Linked DNA regions of Homo sapiens: region 2 is linked to region 1. Evidence: promoter capture Hi-C in human tissues and cell types (Jung and others, 2019). All regions are on one chromosome and are shown on one strand. Each heading gives the region's core, a stretch centred on a gene start or on the middle of the fragment in contact. The rest is flanking DNA. Distances are from core to core; before and after follow the strand shown. Region 1 overlaps LOC124903677 (a long non-coding RNA gene). Region 2 holds the start of GDPD3 (glycerophosphodiester phosphodiesterase domain containing 3).

Region 1 (4,243 bases), core at 312-2,811:
TACCCTCACCCCAGAAGACCGAGACCATAACTGGACCCTAGATCAGGCACATGCTGATACCATTCATCACCAGGCTCCTGCCCAGCCTACTGGTGCAAAGGCAGTCCCCAACCAGGACCACCCTAGGATTATCAAGACGGGGCCTCTGGACGCCACCATTGAGACCACATGATTGTATGTCTCTTTACAGGACTCCAAAAGTTTGCCTATAAAGCGGTAAACTATAAAAAACTTTCAGAAATCACCCAAGGTTCCTAACGAAAACCCAGCCCTTTTTCTCTCTGATTTAACTGAAGCCATGAGAAAATATACCAACCCAGACCCAGCCAGCCCAAAAAGAAACACTATTTTAAACCTTCAGTTTGTCTCCCAATATTTTAAACCTTCAGTTCATCTCCCAATCCACTCCCAATATTTGATGCAAGTTTCAGAAGCTTGACAATGGCCCTCAAACCCCACAATGAGACCTTCTTAATTTAGCCTTCAAAATCTTTAACAATCATAATGAGGAAAATAAAAGGCAAAAACAGGCAAAGTTTCAAATGCTTGCCTTTGCCATTAGAGGCCCTGCAGGCCCACGGGACCGCAGCTCCACATGGAAGCCTCCTAACAATTCACTTCCACCTGGCACCTGTTCCAAGTGTGGCAATAAAGGCCACTGGTCCAGACAATGCCCAAACCCAGGAAAGCCCACCAGGCCATGCCCCCTCTGTGGAGGACCCCACTGGAAGTCAGACTGTGAGTGGCCCCAGCAAGGACTGCCCCCATCCCCTCCTGAGCCAGCCAAAACCTCCTACTCGGATTTCATCGGCCTTGCCACTGAAGACTTGACGGTGCCCTGGAATGAACGCCCCCAGCAACTACCATCTCTTCATTCAAGCCAAAATAACCCTAATGGTGGCAAATGGGCCAGTATATATATTTTTTAAATTAATACCGGGACAAACTACTCTGCTTTACCTAATTTTTCAGGACCCACCCAGTCCTCCCAGGTCTCTGTTGTAGGAATTGATGGACAAGTCACCAAACCCCGAGCCACCCCTCCACTCTTCTGCTCCCTGCACAGTTTTTCCTTCACTCACTCTTCCTTAGTCCTGCCCTCATGTCCAACTCCGCTCCTGGGCAGAGATACCCTTTTCAAAACTCCACACTATTCTCCACCTCCATGGTAACCTACTTAGAAATTCAACTTCCCCTGGGGCCTGGACTGTGACCCCAGCCTGAGCAGCATTAATAATCTACCCCCCGCGCTCTTCCAAACGAGAAATCCTTTCCTTCCCAGGGTTAGCAGGCTTCTTTAGAATATGGATTCTCAACTTTACCCTCCTAGCTTGCCCCCTCTATAAAGCGGCCAAACACCCTCTCGATGAACCCCTAAAACCCTCACATAACATACTCCCCAGCTTCTACAAACTCAAAACCGCTCGTCACTGCACCAACTCTGTCCTTACCTATTATCTCCCAACCTTTCACTCTCCATACTTCCAAAAACTGAGGAATAACCCTCGATGTCTTAGGACAACAGGAAAAAAATCCTCCTTCTTTTGCCCCTGTAACTTACCTCTCTAAACAACTAGATGACACAGTCAAAGGGTGGCCAACCTGCCTTAAAGCACTAGCAGTGGTGGCCATTTTAGCTCTAAAAAGCAGGAAACTAACTTTCAGCCAGAATACCACCGTCTGCAGTCCTCATAATCTACAAGATCTCCTCTCCTCCTGAGCATTAGGCTCCCTTTCTCCTTCATGGATTCAATCACTCCATGCCTTTTTTTTTTTTTTTTTTGAGATGGAGTTTCGCTCTTGCCTCAGTGTCTTGCATAGCTGGGATTACAGGCGTGTGCCACCACGCCTGGCTAATTTTTGTATTTTTAGTAGAGAGGGGGTTTCACCATGTTGGCCAGGCTGGTCCCGAACTCTTGACCTCAGGTGATCCACCCGCCTCAGCCTCCCAAAGTGCTAGGATTACAGGCGTCAACCACCGCGCCCGGCTTACTCCATGCCTTCTTTATCGAAAATCCCAAATTCAGTCTTTTCAAAAGTGCTCCCCTCAACCCAGCATCCTTACTCCCTGTATCTTCTTCCCCTTCTACTCATTCTTATACTAACATCCTAGATCACCTGCAGCCACACTTTCTAAACATTTCCTCCCAGCCTCTCACCAACCCCAATGACCAGCTATTTATAGATAGCTCCTCTTCCGTACCCACTGGCTCCCCCAAAATTGCTGGGTATGCAGTTGTTTTCCTTGGCCGAGTAATTGAAGCTAAACCCCTACCTCCAGGAACCTCCTCTATCCCTCCTCTCCACAATATACAATGCAATCCCTGCCTCAGCCTGTAACTGGACTTCCACCCAAGTAACCTACCATCCCGAAATCCTCATTAACAGCCCCCTCGAACTCGACATGCAGGCATTAACAGAAATCTCCCCTCAGTTAGCTAATGAGTTGGGTCCAGCTGTTACAACCTTACATCCCTATTTACGCAACCTATCCCCCTACCACAGCTGTGATAAACCCGTATTAGGAGCCATAACAACCCACAAAATCTTATCCTATCCAGCACTGCTGTGCATCCAATGACATCTACCCTCTGGCATTCCCCTCAGCCACCTGAATTCCAAACTGCAACTTTACCCTACAACTCAAACCTCCCACCGAACATACTACTCTCAAAGCCGCCAACAAAAAAGACAGGCTTTATTTCTCTAGCCTCCACCTCCTTAACAAAAATTAAGGGTACTGTAATGGCCAACACCTCCCCTGTTTATCCCTCTTCCCTTGACTCCCCTCTCCATGCACCATCCTTACCCTACACCCACCACCCGGGACTGTCTCCTTCTCCCAACATTCAACAACACTCCCACATGCATCTTAGTGGAAACAAAACGCTTCCTCTTACACTGGCAAAAAAAAGAACCCAAAAGCCTCCCAGCCTAAACCAAACACCCCTTTACAACCACTTACAGCAGCAGCCCTAGCCGGGACCCCAGAAGTATAAATGCATGAAAATAACAAAATGTATATCTTTTTAGCATACACACCAGTTCTCTCTAACAAACCAAGGCATACTTTTCCTATGCAGTACCTCAACTTATATTTGCCTCCCCTCTAACTGGATGGGCGCCTGCACACCCTGGTTTTCCTCAGTCCAAAAATCAACGTTGCCCCAGGAGACCAACCCCTACCAATCCCCGTTAATACCCCTATCTGACACCGCCGTGCTATACAACTCATACCTCTATTAGTAGACCTCGGAATAACTACAGGAGTTGGAACTGGGATTGCGGGATTAACCACCTCCGTTTCCTATTACCAATCCCTCTCCAAAGACCTCACAAATAGCTTGGAAAAAATAGCCAAATCCATTACAACTCTCCAATCACAAATAAATTATTTAGCAGCAATGGTTCTTCAAAACCACAGAGACTTAGACCTACTCACAGCCGAAAAAGGAGGACTCTGCCTTTTTCTAGATGAAAAGTGTTGCTTTTATCTTAACCAGTCTGGCTTAGTACAACATGCTGTAAAAAGACTAAAGGACCGAGCACAAAAAATTAAAGAAAACATCCCTTGATGGCCAGCGTGGCCCTCCTGGTCTTTTAATACCTAGTTTCCATAGCTAATGCCCCTTCTAGGCCCGGCCATAACCATTTTTCTTTTCCTAGCATTCGGCCCTTGTCTCCTACACCATCTCACCCAGTTTTTACAGGACCGTATCAGAGCCTTCACCTATGCGACAATACAAGATATAATGCTGCTCCAGGAATACCAATGGCTCCAAAAACTGTAGTCCCTACTGTCCAGCCTTCCCCCACAACCGTCGCCCCTTCCCAGCAAGAAGCAGCCAGACAATGGCACCCCTCTTCTATTACCTATTAAAGGGCTGGAATGTTAGGGACAAACTGCCCAAGAAAGCTTCTTGGTGCTGCCCACCCTTCCCCCAAGCCTCTTTACATTTCTAAGCCCTTATCTAGGTGCCGCGGTGAAGCCAGCAGACTTCACTTATCAGACCTTGCTGCAATAAGCAAACCCCAGGTACAAATCATCCACACCGCACAGGGGGAGGTTGTGGGAAACATAAACAAACTTTACCTACACCCTCCTGTAATAAACGTCACAAGGTAATATGTAGAAAAATTAACCAGCAAACAACCCCGAGATGCGGCCATACCAAAGAACTCCCTCAAACTCCCCTCCCCAATATAAACCCCTCATTCTGTAAGCTTGGGGCTGCTTCCTCTC
Region 2 (4,331 bases), core at 14-2,513, 430 kb after region 1:
GAGGGTGAAATGAGAGATGTTGAGGTCAGGGCTCCAGTGGGTCTGCCCGGGGGGTGCTAACGACTCCTCTTCTGCCTGCTTCTCTCTTTAGGACCTGCCTCCTGCCTGCCCCTCTCCCGCCAGACTGTTAGAAAATGGACACTGTGCCCAGCCCGGACCTTGGCAGCCCAGGCCGGGGTGGAGCATGGGCCTGGCCACCTCTCTCCTTTGCTGAGGCCTCCAGCTTCAGGCAGGCCAAGGCCTTCTCCTCCCCACCCGCCCTCCCCACGGGGCCTCGGGACCTCAGGTGGCCCCAGTTCAATCTCCCGCTGCTGCTGCTGCGCCCTTACCTTCCCCAGCGTCCCAGTCTCTGGCAGTTCTGGAATGGAAGGGTTCTGGCTGCCCCAACCTGCTGAAGGGCAGAGGTGGAGGGTGGGGGGCGCTGAGTAGGGACTCAGGGCCATGCCTGCCCCCCTCATCTCATTCAAACCCCACCCTAGTTTCCCTGAAGGAACATTCCTTAGTCTCAAGGGCTAGCATCCCTGAGGAGCCAGGCCGGGCCGAATCCCCTCCCTGTCAAAGCTGTCACTTCGCGTGCCCTCGCTGCTTCTGTGTGTGGTGAGCAGAAGTGGAGCTGGGGGGCGTGGAGAGCCCGGCGCCCCTGCCACCTCCCTGACCCGTCTAATATATAAATATAGAGATGTGTCTATGGCTGACCCTGGCTCTGTCTGTGTTCGCGACGCCCCCGCCCTGCCCCGTGCGGCTCTGAGGACAGACTTGACTTGGGCTTTCAGGGGCCTGGTGCCCTTCACTCCCAGCTGCCCAGGGCTGGGGACGGGGCTCTGGAGAGCTCCAGACTCCTAGAAAGAAGGGGGTCAGTTTTCCCCTTAGTCACTGTCCTGTCCTCTCGCTAATGGCTTCCTGTCTAACTGGCTGGGGGTGATTCGGGGTGACTCAGGAGCACCCTACACACCCCTGGATCCTCTGAAATGGCAAGGGGTAGGCATGTTGGATGCGCTGGCTACAAGTACCAGTGAGAGGGAGAGGTCCTGACAGTCCTGGGTGGTTTTTACTCCCCTCATGTAGCCCAGGACGGGGCTGCTGGGGGCTGGGAAGGGCCTGGGGATATGAGAGCCAGGGCTACTTGCCTCACCTCCTGACACTACCCCAGCTTCAGCCGAACCCTGCAGCCTGGCTCCAAGCCAGCCCAGCGGCAGGCTCAGCAGGTCCCAGGGGCGTGGCAGTGGCCAGTAGTAGAGCCGGCCCACACTGGCTAGGCAGGCAGCACAGTCCCGCGGACGGCTGAGCGTGTGGCTGCAGGAGCTTCTGTGGGAGTACGGTCATGAGCCTTTTGCTGTACTATGCCCTCCCTGCCCTGGGCAGCTATGCCATGCTCTCCATCTTCTTCCTGCGCCGGCCTCATCTGCTGCACACGCCCAGGGCTCCCACCTTCCGCATCCGCCTGGGGGCCCACCGAGGAGGTGAGCCGGGTAGGGGTGAGAACAGGTGCCAAAGTGGACAGCACAGAGGGGTAGGTCCAAGGGGGCATGCTAGAAACGGGGCAGGGACCAAGAGAGAAGGAGAGCGAAGTGGCAGGGCAGGGTGTGGACGAGGAAGAAGATGCTGGCGCAGCCTGGGCTGGCTGGGGAGGTGAGGCCAGAGGGAGGATGGAGCCCAGAGAGGGAATGTGGGTGATGAGGTTGGGCCAGGCCCCTAGACCCCAAGCCCCAGAGGCCCACTCCAGTGCCCCCCACAGGATCTGGAGAGCTGCTGGAGAACACCATGGAGGCCATGGAGAAGTGAGTGTATCTGCCCCTGCCCAGGCTGCCATGTGAGGGTGTGCAGGTCGTGGACTGCATCACAGCAAGGGACGCCATTCACTTCCTAGCTGGGTGACTGGCGCCCCCTGGAGGTGGCCTGCACATCCCGCCACGAACTCCGCTCTCACATTCCCGGCCACCTCCCAGCCACCATGCCCCTCATCCCAGTCCCCTGCCCCTGCCCCCCGCTGACCTTCACCCCCACAGCTCCATGGCCCAGCGCTCGGACCTCCTGGAGCTCGACTGTCAGCTGACACGGGACAGAGTGGTGGTGGTGTCACATGATGAGAACCTGTGCCGCCAGTCGGGCCTAAACAGGGATGTGGGCAGCCTGGACTTCGAGGTGGGCCCTGCCCTGACACCCCAACCCCCACCCTGAGAGTCACCATGCCCAATGCGGGCCTCTAGTGACATCCTTCCTGTCCTCCCCAGGACCTGCCCCTCTACAAGGAGAAGCTGGAGGTTTACTTCTCTCCAGGTGAGAGCAAGGGCTTCGAGCCCTGCCTGGGCCATGCCTGCCTTCCTTGGACCTCCGCCTTGGCTTCCCTCTGACCCCTTTTCCCACACCACCCCCAGGCCACTTTGCTCACGGGTCAGACCGGCGCATGGTTCGTCTGGAGGACCTGTTCCAGAGGTTTCCAAGGACACCCATGAGCGTAGAGATCAAAGGGAAGAACGAAGAGCTCATCCGTGAGGTGGTGCTGCAGGCAGGGCTAGGGCGGCCACCGGGGGCGTGAGAGAGGCCTGGCTCTCCCTTCACCTCCTTCTCCTCCTCCCAGATAGCAGGCTTGGTGAGACGCTATGACCGTAATGAAATCACCATCTGGGCCTCGGAGAAGAGCTCGGTCATGAAGAAATGCAAGGCTGCCGTGAGTCCCCCCACCCCTCCCCCGTCCTCTTCCTCCTCCAGGGGCCCCTCCTCCCCAGAGCTGGAGCCCACCCAGCATGGGGACCCGAGCTAGAGGGGTCTGGGAGAGTTCCCAGTGGCGTGGCGGTGGCAATGAAAAGGGTGTGAACTCAGGCCTCGAACACAGAGCCAAGATGTGACTTTTGTTTTTTTTCTTTTTTGAAACACAGTCTCTCTCTGTCGCCCAGGCTGGAGTGCGGTGGTGCGACCTCGGCTCACTGCAACCTCTGCCTCCTGGGTTCAAGCGATTCTCATGCTTCAGCCTCCCGAGTAGCTGGGATTACAGGTGCACGCCACCACGCCCAGCTAATTTTTGTATTTTTAGTAGAGATGGGGTTTTACCATGTTAGCCAGGCTGGTCTTGAACTCCTGATCTCAGGTGATCCACCTGCCTCAGCCTCCCAAACTGCTGAGGTTACAGGCGTGAGCCACCACACCCAGCCCCAAGATGTGACTTGGATCCTGCAGGTAGTAGGGCCTCTGGAATGCCCACCACGGCTCCCCTGCAGCTCATGCCTCCTCTCTGCTTCCCCAGAGCAGACAGATTCTCATGCCTCTCCTTGCCTCCCCAGAACCCCGAGATGCCCCTGTCCTTCACAATAAGCCGAGGATTCTGGGTGCTGCTTTCCTACTACCTGGGGCTGCTGCCCTTCATCCCAATCCCTGAGAAGTTCTTCTTCTGCTTCCTGCCCAACATCATCAACAGGTACCAGTGGGGGGCGGACCTCAGAAAAACTCCCCACTGCTTAGGGTCTCCGTGGAGAAGGAGCCCAGATCTTCCCAGCTCCCCAGCTCCCCTCAGAGATAACCCCCAAGGTCTTTTAAGGACAGTGGTTCTTACCCAGCATTCATGAATACTAAGGGAACTGTGAACACCCTGAAATTCTGTGCATATGTGGAGTTTTAGGATAGAGAGGTAATTTATCCATCTCAGGCCATCTAGCATATTTTATTGAATGTCTACTCTGTCCCAGGTGCAGTTATAATGTGTAAATGAGACCAGTGAGGGTGGGGAGAGGTCCTTGGTGAGCTTACAGTCTGGCTGGGGAGACATTCGTTCATTAATTATAGCACGGCTGTCTCAGACCCTCAGCAGGAAAAGGCCAAGTCAGTGTTCTGCAGGAAGGCAGGGGTTAACAAAGTAACAGCTGGGGAAAGGATCAGGAATTTGGATACTTCGCTGGCACTTAAGCCTAGTCCCTCCCTTTGCTTTACAATTTTTTTTTTTTTTTTGAGACAGTCTTGCTCGGGCTGGAATGCAGTGGCCAGATCATGACTCACTGCGCCTCGACCTCCTGGGCTCAGGAGATCCTCCTGCCTCAGCCTCCTAAGTAGCTGGGAGTATAGGCGTGCAACACTGCACCTGGCTAATTGTTAAATTATTTGTAGAGACAAGGTCTCACTATGTTGACCAGGCTGCTCTTGAACTCCTCAGCTCAAGCGAGCCTCCCACCTTGGTCTCCCAAAGTGCTGGGATTACATACCTGAGCCCCTGGGCCCGGTCTCCCTTTGCTTTCTGACAGCTTCTCTGTGGTAGTCCCAGAGCTCTCTGCTCCCCTCTGTTGTCCAGAAGGAAGTCCCACTCAGCCCCCACAATACCTTGCTACAAAGAGATCAATGATATT

What was found. The method cuts DNA at HindIII sites, captures the fragments that hold promoters and counts their contacts. A contact is called where the count stands out against the background at its distance.
Region 2: a contact is called between the fragment with the promoter of GDPD3 here and a fragment that was not itself captured in region 1, in 1 of the 25 tissues and cell types used here (dorsolateral prefrontal cortex).

The regions. Positions count from the first base shown.
Region 1 is chr16:30,541,849-30,546,091 of GRCh38, reverse strand. All of the region lies in intron 1 of LOC124903677 (a long non-coding RNA gene), which reads left to right. Among named protein-coding and RNA genes, the nearest start is that of ZNF747-DT, 8.9 kb to the right of the region's middle. The HindIII fragment of the contact is 5,019 bases long and covers 1-4,070 here.
Region 2 is chr16:30,110,469-30,114,799 of GRCh38, reverse strand. GDPD3 (glycerophosphodiester phosphodiesterase domain containing 3) reads left to right here and starts at 1,263. Exons shown (of 10, transcript NM_024307.3): 1 at 1,263-1,460; 2 at 1,736-1,778; 3 at 2,007-2,142; 4 at 2,232-2,277; 5 at 2,376-2,494; 6 at 2,579-2,668; 7 at 3,279-3,412. The coding sequence starts at 1,322. It overlaps MAPK3 (mitogen-activated protein kinase 3), which reads left to right. Exons shown (of 9, transcript NM_002746.3): 9 at 92-695. RefSeq lists a silencer at 998-1,292. The HindIII fragment of the contact is 6,526 bases long and covers 1-4,331 here.